Regions from separate parts of the Homo sapiens genome. Here all the other regions are linked to region 2. Evidence: promoter capture Hi-C in 16 types of primary human blood cells and fetal thymus (Javierre and others, 2016). All regions are on one chromosome and are shown on one strand. The core of a region is centred on a gene start or on the middle of the fragment in contact, and the rest is flanking DNA. Distances in the headings are between cores, read along the strand shown.

Region 1 (3,110 bases), core at 251-2,750, 350 kb before region 2:
GAAAGGCAAAGGGAGGACAAATGTCCCTGTTTTGCTTCCTACCTGCCTACTTGAGCTGGGACATCAATCTTCTCTTGCTCTTGGACTGGAATTTATACCACTGGCTCCCTTGGTTCTCAGGCTTTCAGACTCAGACTGGCATTACACCACGGACTTTCCTGGGGCTCTAGTTTGCAGATGGCAGATCATTGGGTTTCTCAGCCTCCATAATCACATGAGCCAATTTATACATATATTCCATTGGTTCTATTTCTCTGGAGAACTCTATTACCGTGGCCCTACCCCAACCCATGCCAAAACTAAGTGGGAAACCTAGACTTCCACTCTCTCAAGATTGTAACAGGCCACCCCAATACCCTTACTAGAGTGGTGTCACACAAGGCCAAGTAGGGAACTGGGACTTTTGTCCCAGCCAGCCAGTAATGAGCCCTCCTCTCTGTGTGCATGATGGCAATAAAGACCGTGGTGTCAGTGGGGAACCTGGATATCCATCTGGCAGAAATGAGGTACCCCTCTGCTTTTCTGCTCAGTTGGTATCAGAGGAGGCCTAGTAGAGAGTCAGGACTTTAACCATCACCCAGAGGTAATGAGGCCACCTCTACCACAGTATCAGTAGACACCATGTGGGGCTGGAACAAGCAGCCCTATCCAGCAGTAAGGAGGAGACCTGTCCCGCTTGAGTGTCAACAGAGGTACAGTGGGAAATCTGAACTTCTACCTTCACCTGGCAGCAATGAAATGACACCCCCTCTCATGCCAATGCAGTGACAGACAAAGTTAGTTAAAACAAAAGTTTTAAATTAAGATCCAAAGTCTTATAACATAATACAAAAATGTCCAGATCTCAAACTGAATGAAAAAAGACAATAGAGGTCAACACTGAGATGGCAGCTATATTAGAATATCTGACAAAGATTTTAAAGCAGCTATGATAGAAATGCTTCAAGAAGCAGTTATGAACACACTTGAAAAAAGTGAAAAACTATACAACTTCAGCAAAGAAATAGAAAGTATAAGGAAGAACCAAATAGAAATTTTAAAACTATAAAATACAATAAACAAATAGAAAAGCTCAGTGGATAGGCTCAATGCCAGAATAAAGAGAAGAAAGGGAAGAATCAGCATACCATAAGGTAGAACAATAGAAACTACTCAGTCTGAACAACGGAGAAAATAGAGTGAGAAAATGAATAGAGCCCCAGGGACCTGAGAGATGGTAACAAGAGATCTAACATTCCTGTCACTGGAGTCCCAGAAGAAGAAAAAAAGAAGGCAGGGCTGAAAAAGTACACCAAGAAATAATGACTGAGAACTTCCCAAGTTTGTCAAGAGACAAAACATAGTGATTCATAAACATAGTGATTCAAAAAGATGAGGAAGGCCGGGTACAGTGGTTCACGCCTGTAATCTCAGCACTTTGGGAGACAGAGGAAGGCAGACTGCTTGAGGCCAGGAGTTCAAGACCAGACCGGGAAATATGGTAAAACCCCATCTCTAAAAAAAACCAAACCAAAAAAACAAAAACAAAAACAACAAAAAAAAACCACACACACAAAATATTAGCCAGGTATGTTGGCATGCACCTGTGGTCCCAGCTGTGAGAGGATCACTCAAGCCCAGGAGGTCAAGGCTGCAGTGAGCTGTAATCACACCACTGCACTCCAGCCTGGGCAACAGAGTGAGTCTCTGTCTCAAAAAAGAAAAAAAAAGAAAAAATGCTGAGGAAACCTCAACCAAGATAAACCCAAATAATCTGTGCCAAGACACGTTAAAATTAAACTTCTGAAATCAGACAAAGAAAAAAAACTCTTGAAAATGTCACTATAAGGAAACAAACAATTCAGTGACAATGGATTTCTCATCAGAAATCATGGAGGCCAGAAGGAATTGGTACAATATTTTTCAAGGGCTGAAGGAAAATAGCAGTCAACTCAGAATTCTATACCCAGAAAGAAATAGAATTCTATACACAGAAAGAAAAATCCTCCAGGAATGAAGAGGAAACTAAGACATTATCAGAAGTTTTCTTAGGAAAGCAAAAAGAGTTTGTCACCAGTAGACCTACTCTAAAAGTGGCTAAAAGAGATTCTCTAAATGGAAAGGAAACAATGAAAAAAGAAATCTTGGAACATTAGGAAGAAAAGACACAGTTAGCAAAAAATATCGGAAAATCAATAGACATTTCTTCTATTGAATTTTCTAAACTATGTTTGACAGTTGAAGCAAAAATAACAACACTTTCTGATTTTATTCTAAAGGTATGTAGAGGGAATGTTTTTAGAAATTATAAATTAGAGAGGGAAAAGGGACAAAGAGAGGGTTTCCATACTTCACTCATACTGGTAAAATAATGACAGCATAGGCTATAATAAGTTATGTGTATATATAATATAATACCTGGAACAACCAATAAGAAAGCTATACGAATATACTCAAAAACACTGTAGAAAGTGCTCACTTCAGCAATACATACATTAAAATTGGAATGATACAGAGATTAGCATGGCCTTTGTGTAAGGATAACATGCAAATTTGTGAAGCACTCCATATATTTTTTAAATGCCATAGATAAATCAAAATAGAATTCTAAAAAATGTTCAAGTAATCTTTAGGAGGTAGGCAAAAGAAAACAAAGAAACAAAAATTGGGAAAAAAAAAAACAAAACAAAAAATGGCAGACTTAAGCCCTAACATACCAATAACCACATAAAGATTAGTAGAATGAATTAAAAAGCATGACCCAAACTATGTACTATCTACAGGAAACTTACTTTAAATATAATGATATGGGCAGGCTGAAAGTAAAAGGATGGGGAAAGTTATATCATGCAGACATTAACCAAATTAGCTGGGCTTGGTGGCAGGCACCTGTAACCCAAGCTACTCAGGAGGCTGAGGCAGGAGAATCACTTAAACCTTGGAAGCGGAGATTGCAGTGACCCGAGATTGTGCCACTGGACTTCACTCTGGGTGACAGAGCGAGACCCTGTCAAAAAAAAAAAAAAAAGCCACAAGTGGTGGCTCACACCTGTAATCCCAGCACTTTGGGAGGCCAATGCAGGCAGATCACTTGAGGTTAGGAGTTCGAGACCAGCCTGGCCAACGTGGTG
Region 2 (3,269 bases), core at 158-2,657:
ACAAAGAAAACCATCTGCCCAGTAATAGCGATCCCAGCCCATCCCTCATATCAGAATTTCAGGAGAAAAGCAGACAACCACTAATCCATTTCCTTTTGTCTTCCCTTTCCCCCACCTCTAGACTTACTACTTACCTGAGCCAAGTATGCACCATAACCAGTGGCCAGCGAAGGGGCTTCATAGGCTACACCAAGCATGTCCACATAACCGAGGAAGCTAACAGGACACAATGGGTCAAAACTCATTTCACCTTAGATTCATCTTAGCTGAAGAAGGGGACCATGGGGTCTGAGTTAAAGTGGGATTCACTTGGGGAGAAGAGACAGAAGAGATACTACACAGGTACTAGGTTGGGTGGTAAAGGAAATAAGTTATTTGTATTCATATGAACCTCTCTCCATCAGCATAGCCTCCGATGACCATGGTGTTCCACAAAGGGTTCATCTTCGAGCGCCGGCTGTACATGGCCCTGGTCAGCCATGAATGAATAGCTCTAGGACTATAGCTGTGTCCATCTCCCAGAAGCTCCTCATCAATCCTTAAAAGGAATTGGTTGTGAGAAAAGGGAGAGAATTAAGTCGGGGTCTCCACCCATCCCCAAAAGAAGTTACCACACCTTCCCCCATTTTACACCTAATGCCAAAAACTTTATTGCAAACACAGATCGCCCACCTCCAACAACTCTTCCAGTCCCCCGCTGCAACAAGTCCCCCCATCCCATCGAAGGGAATAAAAAACAGGGGACTCCCCTCTCTACTTGGGAACCACTCTCCTGTTCTCTGGATGACTTACACCATCTGGCCGAGAACTTGCTTCAAATACTGGAAATCAGCGTAGTCGCCAGAGGCACCCAGCATGGTACTGTTGTTGACTCGCATAATGCGAGAGATGTTGCGGAAACGAGCCAAGGAGCCGTAGGATCCCAGCATGTCTGCGGCAATCACCACTCCGCCCTCGAACTTAACGCCGAGGACTGAGGTCCCGGTCACCATGGGGTTCCTAAAGAGTGAGAACGGTGGGAGCTGAGAGGGGGGATGGACTGCGCCCTCTTTCCGCGCACTGAGCTGCGCTTCTGATTTTCTATAATTCCTTCCAATTATTCTGCATTCTCCAGGACTCCGCGCCCTGAGCTCCCCTGCCGTTCGCGCGCCCCCGGGGTCCCCGCCTCACCTTCCCGGGCTCTCAAAACCAGCCGGCAGCACCAGGCCCCACGGTCCCTCCCGCTACGCAAACGAAAGCGCCGAGAACTTACTGGGTCCGCGTGATTGGACCTCTGTAAAGTGCAGACGCCGGATCCATGAAGGAATCGGGAGTGGACGGAATGCGGTAAAACTGTCCTGGGGCCGGACCCCCCGCCCAAAGTCCGGACCGCGACCCCAAAAACGCTTCCATCTTAGTCACGGTAGCAGAAAAAATGAAAGCGCTTGCGCCAACGGAAGCGGAAGTGATCCTTCAGTGTCATTTCTTTCTTTTTCCTGTAGACGACTTCCAGCAGCCATGTTGATGAGGTCGTAGCTGAACATGCAGTAATCCTAGGTGGCGACCGAGACAGGGAGTTGAAATTGCCCAACATCGCTTCGCATCGCATCGCATCTCCGTGGAGTTTGGACCAGATCACAGCGTTCTAACACACGATTCAAGGAGGAGGGAGGCATGAAGGTGGGGTGGGGAGGTGGCCACTTAAAGACGCTGATCCTGAGTGAGACGTCACAATTTTTTATTTTATTTTTTATTTTTTTGAGACGGAGTCTCGCTCTGGCCCCCAGGCTGGAATGCAGTGGCGCGATCTCGGCTCACTGCAACCTCCGCCTCCCAGATTCAAGCGATTCTCGTGCCTTAGCCTCCCGAGTAGCTGGGATTACAGGCGCCTGCCACCACGCCTGGCTAATTTTTTGTATTTTTGCTAGAGATGGGGTTTCACCATGTTGGCCAGGCTGGTCTCGAACTCCGGATCTCAGGTGATCCGCCTGCCTCGGACTCCCAAAGTGCTGGGATTACAGGAGTAAGCCGCCTCGCCCGGCCTAGAAGTCACAGTTCTCATGTTCCTTTTGTATCATTATCAAAAAGCCCACATGAAAATATCAGTGAACACAGGATCTCTTACATCTGTACTCCTCAGAGCAGCCCCATGTGGCAGGCATTATTCGACCCATTTGGTAAATAGGAAACCGAGGCTTGCGGTGTAGTGATTTACCCAGTCACACAGCCGATAACGGTAGAACTGAATCTTGAAGCTAGAATAAAAAAAGGAATCAGGGCCGGGTGCGGTGGCTCATGCCTGTAATCCCAGAACTTTGGGAGGCCAAGACGGGAGGATCACTTGAACCCAGGAATTCAAGACCAGCCTTGGCAACATGGTGAGACCTCACCTCTACAAAACAAAACAAAACAAAAAATTAGCCAGGCCTGTAATTCCAGCTACTTGGGAGGGTGAGGTGGGAGAATCGCCTGAACCCGAGGGAGGTTGCAGTGAGCCAAGGTGGCGCCACTGCACTCCAGCCTGGGCAACAGAGCGAGACCCTGTCACAAAAAAAAAAAAAAAAAAAAAAAAAAAAAGAATACACTTGTGTATACCCTGTGGGGTGTGATAGCTCAGGTGGATCAAGCACTCTCTGTGGGACCTTAGACAAGTCTGAAAGTTTCCTTATTGTCAAGGGCCCTTGCCCACCTCTAAAGAAACAGAAAAATTCCATTGGAAGTGTAGGGGTGAAACTAAATTCCAGGGGTTTCCTTCTCAGTGTAACTCCATAGCAGGGGCTGGAAACTGTCTTGAATCAAACTGGTGAATTTTGTCAAAGATAAACAAAGCCGGACACTAAAGTGGAAAGGACAGATTTCAATCAGTAATAACTACTACAATAAGGAAAAACAGTTCAGCATGAACTGAACTCAACTGCAATTTGTATGCAAGTAATGGGTATTTTATAGGGAAAATGAGGTTAGGGGACAGTGAGACAGAGGGTCAGTAGAGTCAGGGAAGTGAACATTTACAGAATTAGTCAATGTAAATGTGCTTAGGTCAATGATGTCTGCTAGCTGGCATTTATGGAAGTTAGGATTCCATCCTCCCACAGAGACTGGTGAGGATACCATCCTCAACACTGTCCTTAGGTGTCTTTTGTTTGTTTGTTTTTTGAGACAAGGTCTGGCTCTGTCACCCAGGCTGGAGTGCAGTGGCATGATCTCGGCTCACTGCGACCCTTGCCTCCCCGGCTCCAGCGATCCTCCAGCTGCAACCTCTCGAGTAGCTGGGGACTACAGATGCCACA
Region 3 (3,345 bases), core at 121-2,620, 380 kb before region 2:
GAAGTATGCTTCTATTTAATTCTATGTGTACCTTAGCTAACTTTTAAAAAATACCCTGAGCCCTTTTTATATGAAATAAATTTTGAAATTGCTGAAGCTCTTGAAATTGGAAGGTAGGCAGTAGTAGTCTTTTCAGTAATAATGTGCTCCCATGCCTCTCTGCTATTCATAAAAGGATTGGATGAAACCTCCCTCTTTTCCCTGCTTTGCTTGTTTCAGGATATAAGTCAAAGAGTACAGCAGAAAATGTCTACTGAACGGACTTCTTGGACAAGCCTGTCCACCATTCAGAAAATAGCCCTGGGCCTTGGGATCCCAGCCAGTGCAACAGTTGCCTATATCCTATACCGCAGGTATAGGGAAAGCAGAGGTACGTGAACCCTATGACTGTGTGTGTGAAAATGTTCAGACATGCTCCTGCCTTGTTAAATTGAAAAAAACTCTTTCCTTGCCAGGTATTGTGTGTGTTTTGTTTTGGGGTTTTTTGTGGGGTTTTTTTGAGACAGGGTCTCACTCTGTCACCTAGCCTGGCGTACAGTGGCACAATCTTGGCTCACTGTAGTGTCGACCTCCTGGGCTCAAGCAATCCTCCCACCTCAGCCTCCAAGTAGCTGGGACCACAGGCCTGTATTTTTTGTAGAGATGGGGTTTTCCCATGTTGCCCAGGCTGGTCTTGAACTCCTGAGCTCAAGCAACCCACCTGCCTCGGCCTCCCAAAGTGCTAGGATTACAGGCATGTGCCTCCATGCCTGACCCAGGTATTTTAATTGACTTTCTGTGAGGAATCTTTGACTAAAATTATTTAGTCTTTTTTTTTTCTTTGAGACAGAGTCTCACTCTGTCGCCCACACTGGAGTGCAGTGGAGCAATCTCGGCTCACTGCAACCTCTGCCTCCCGAGTTCAAGCAGTTCTCCTGCCTCAGCCACCCTAGTAGCTGGGATTACAGGCGTGTGCCACCACTCCTGGCTAATGTTTGTATTTTTAGTAGAGACGGGGTTTCACCACCAGGGTGGCTGACCTCAAGTGATCCACCTGCCTCGGCCTCCCAAAGTGCTGAGATTACAGGCATGAGCCACTGCACCTGGCCTAGTCTTTGCTATGTTCTTACATAGCAAAGTAAGCTAGTCTATGAAATGAACTCATTTTATAACTCCATTGATGTGCTTTCTTCAGCAACATCAACACAGCAAAGAGTTCTTTTTTAATTTCTATACTCATCTTTTTTATATATTCCTTTTCTCTAATTAGTTGTTAGTAGAAGGCACTTACCTCAAAGGCTGGATCTAGAGAATAGGACCTAGAGAAATGACTTATGTACCTATCAGTCAGGAGAAGTTCTGAGCCTAATGGACCCCTCAGGTAACTTTTGGCCTTCATTCTTCTCCAGTAGTCATGTCTTGGGAGAAGTAGTTTGCCCAAACCCCAGCACCTGTTTATTGCAGAATCTGCTTTTCCCATTTTAGCATCTGAAACAGTGTCCCAGAGAAAATGCCCATCTCTGATCCTTTGGGACCTTCTAATTCCCATTCAGATGCCACTTTTCCTTGTTGTTATGGTTGAGATCCTCACTTTATCTCTTGGATCAGTGTCTCTTTGACAGCCAGATTCTGGGGAGGACTGGTAGTTATACTAGCTTTGGGTGTTATCTAAGTCTGATCTGATGAACAATGATCTGTGCAGAAGAGCGGCTGACATTTGTTGGGGAAGATGACATTGAGATAGAGATGCGGGTTCCCCAGGAGGCTGTGAAACTCATCATTGGCCGGCAAGGAGCCAATATTAAACAGGTAAGTGTGTGAGTAGGCAGTCTGCTTTCCCAAGGATTGATTCTGTTTATTGATTTCTTGTTTCCTTCCACTGACCCCATATCACAAAACATTCACATGCTCTGTGTGTGTGTGTATGTGTGTGTGTATATATAAAATATATATATATATATTTTTTTTTTTTGAGATGGAGTTTCGCTCTTGTTGTCCAGGCTGGAGTGCAATGGCACGATCTCGGCTCACTGCAACATCCGCCTCCTGGGTTCAAGTGATTCTCCTGCCTCAGCCTCCCGAGTAGCTGGGATTACAGGCACCCGCCACCACGCCCAGCGAATTTTTGGTATTTTTAGTGGAGACGAGGTTTCGTCATGTTGGCCAGGCTGATCTCGAACTCCTGACCTCAGGTGATCCGCCTGCCTCGGCCTCCCAGAGTGCTGGGATTACAGGTGTGAGCCACTGGGCCCAACCACTATGTATATTTTTAAAAGAACAAATAGAGGAACTTTTTAGCTAACTAAACTTTTTAGCTACTTCCCTTCTAGAGAAGAGTACTTCTCCCTAGAGAAAGGATGACTTAGCTTGAAATACGGGTTTTTGACTGGGTGATTGTCAGCATGGTATAACTTGAATTATCCTTTTTTTTTTTTTTTTTGAGACAGAGTCTGGCTCTGTCACCCAGGCTGGAATGCAGTGGCATGATCTTGGCTCACTGCAAGCTCCGCCTCCCATGTTCACATCATTCTCCTGCCTCAGCCTCCCAAGTAGCTGGGACTACAGGTGCCCGCCACCACTCCCAGCTAATTTTTTGTATTTTTTGTAGAGACAGGGTTTCACCATGTTAGCCAGGATGGTCTCGATCTCCTGACCTCGTGATCCAGCCGCCTTGGCTTCCCAAAGTGCTGGGATTAGAGGCGTGAGCCACCGCGCCTGGTCAAATTATCCTTTTCTACTATGGAATTAATGAACTCTCATTAATTGACAGTAAATATTGAATGGCTACCTGGTTCTTCTTACCATCTTCCATTGTTCAGCTGGAATGTCAAGAAAACAAAATATTTGATTCTCTAATCCAAATAAAATTAGTAAGGGGAAAGGATTCTAAACACAAAGATAAATGGGTTTGAATTTACTGCTATTTGGGGTTACATTTGTTACTAATCTCCTTCCATAAAGTGAGGACTGGTTGTATAGATAGTAACTGAGGTTGTATATAAAGTAATTGAGGACTGGTTGTATAGATAGTATTAGCTAATTCCTTTGGCTAATTCTATCTACCTCCAGGGTTTGTTTTAGAGTGTCTGTAGCTGGGCTCAAATGGGAGCTCTTCCAGAATGTACTGCCAAATGTCCTTTTCTTTGCAGCTGCGGAAACAGACAGGTGCTCGGATTGATGTGGACACAGAGGATGTAGGCGATGAGCGAGTGCTGCTTATCAGTGGTTTTCCTGTTCAGGTGTGCAAGGCCAAAGCAGCAATCCATCAGATCCTGACAGAGAATACCCCAGTGTCTGAGCAGCTTTCAGTTCCCCAGAGATCTGTGGGCAGAATCATAGGTACCACTGGATGGCTTCCTCTATTGT

What was found. The method cuts DNA at HindIII sites, captures the fragments that hold promoters and counts their contacts. A CHiCAGO score of 5 or more calls a contact.
Region 1: a fragment that was not itself captured here is called in contact with the fragment with the promoter of PSMB4 in region 2 in 1 of 17 cell types (M2 macrophages); the score reaches 5.2 in M2 macrophages.
Region 3: a fragment that was not itself captured here is called in contact with the fragment with the promoter of PSMB4 in region 2 in 3 of 17 cell types (M1 macrophages, M2 macrophages and M0 macrophages); the score reaches 7.8 in M1 macrophages.

What each region holds. Positions count from the first base shown.
Region 1 is chr1:151,747,041-151,750,150 of GRCh38, reverse strand. It overlaps the pseudogene RNU6-662P. Among named protein-coding and RNA genes, the nearest start is that of MRPL9, 15 kb to the left of the region's middle. The HindIII fragment of the contact is 7,839 bases long and covers 1-3,110 here.
Region 2 is chr1:151,397,711-151,400,979 of GRCh38, reverse strand. It overlaps PSMB4 (proteasome 20S subunit beta 4), which reads right to left and starts at 1,407. Exons shown (of 7, transcript NM_002796.3): 1 at 1,253-1,407; 2 at 793-999; 3 at 392-538; 4 at 135-216. The coding sequence starts at 1,392. RefSeq lists a silencer at 680-837 and enhancers at 606-1,327, 1,678-1,727, 1,328-2,050. The HindIII fragment of the contact is 7,561 bases long and covers 1-3,269 here.
Region 3 is chr1:151,779,924-151,783,268 of GRCh38, reverse strand. TDRKH (tudor and KH domain containing) reads left to right here. Exons shown (of 13, transcript NM_001083965.2): 2 at 220-370; 3 at 1,682-1,788; 4 at 3,129-3,318. The coding sequence starts at 247. Among named protein-coding and RNA genes, the nearest start is that of TDRKH, 8.9 kb to the left of the region's middle. The HindIII fragment of the contact is 4,445 bases long and covers 1-3,345 here.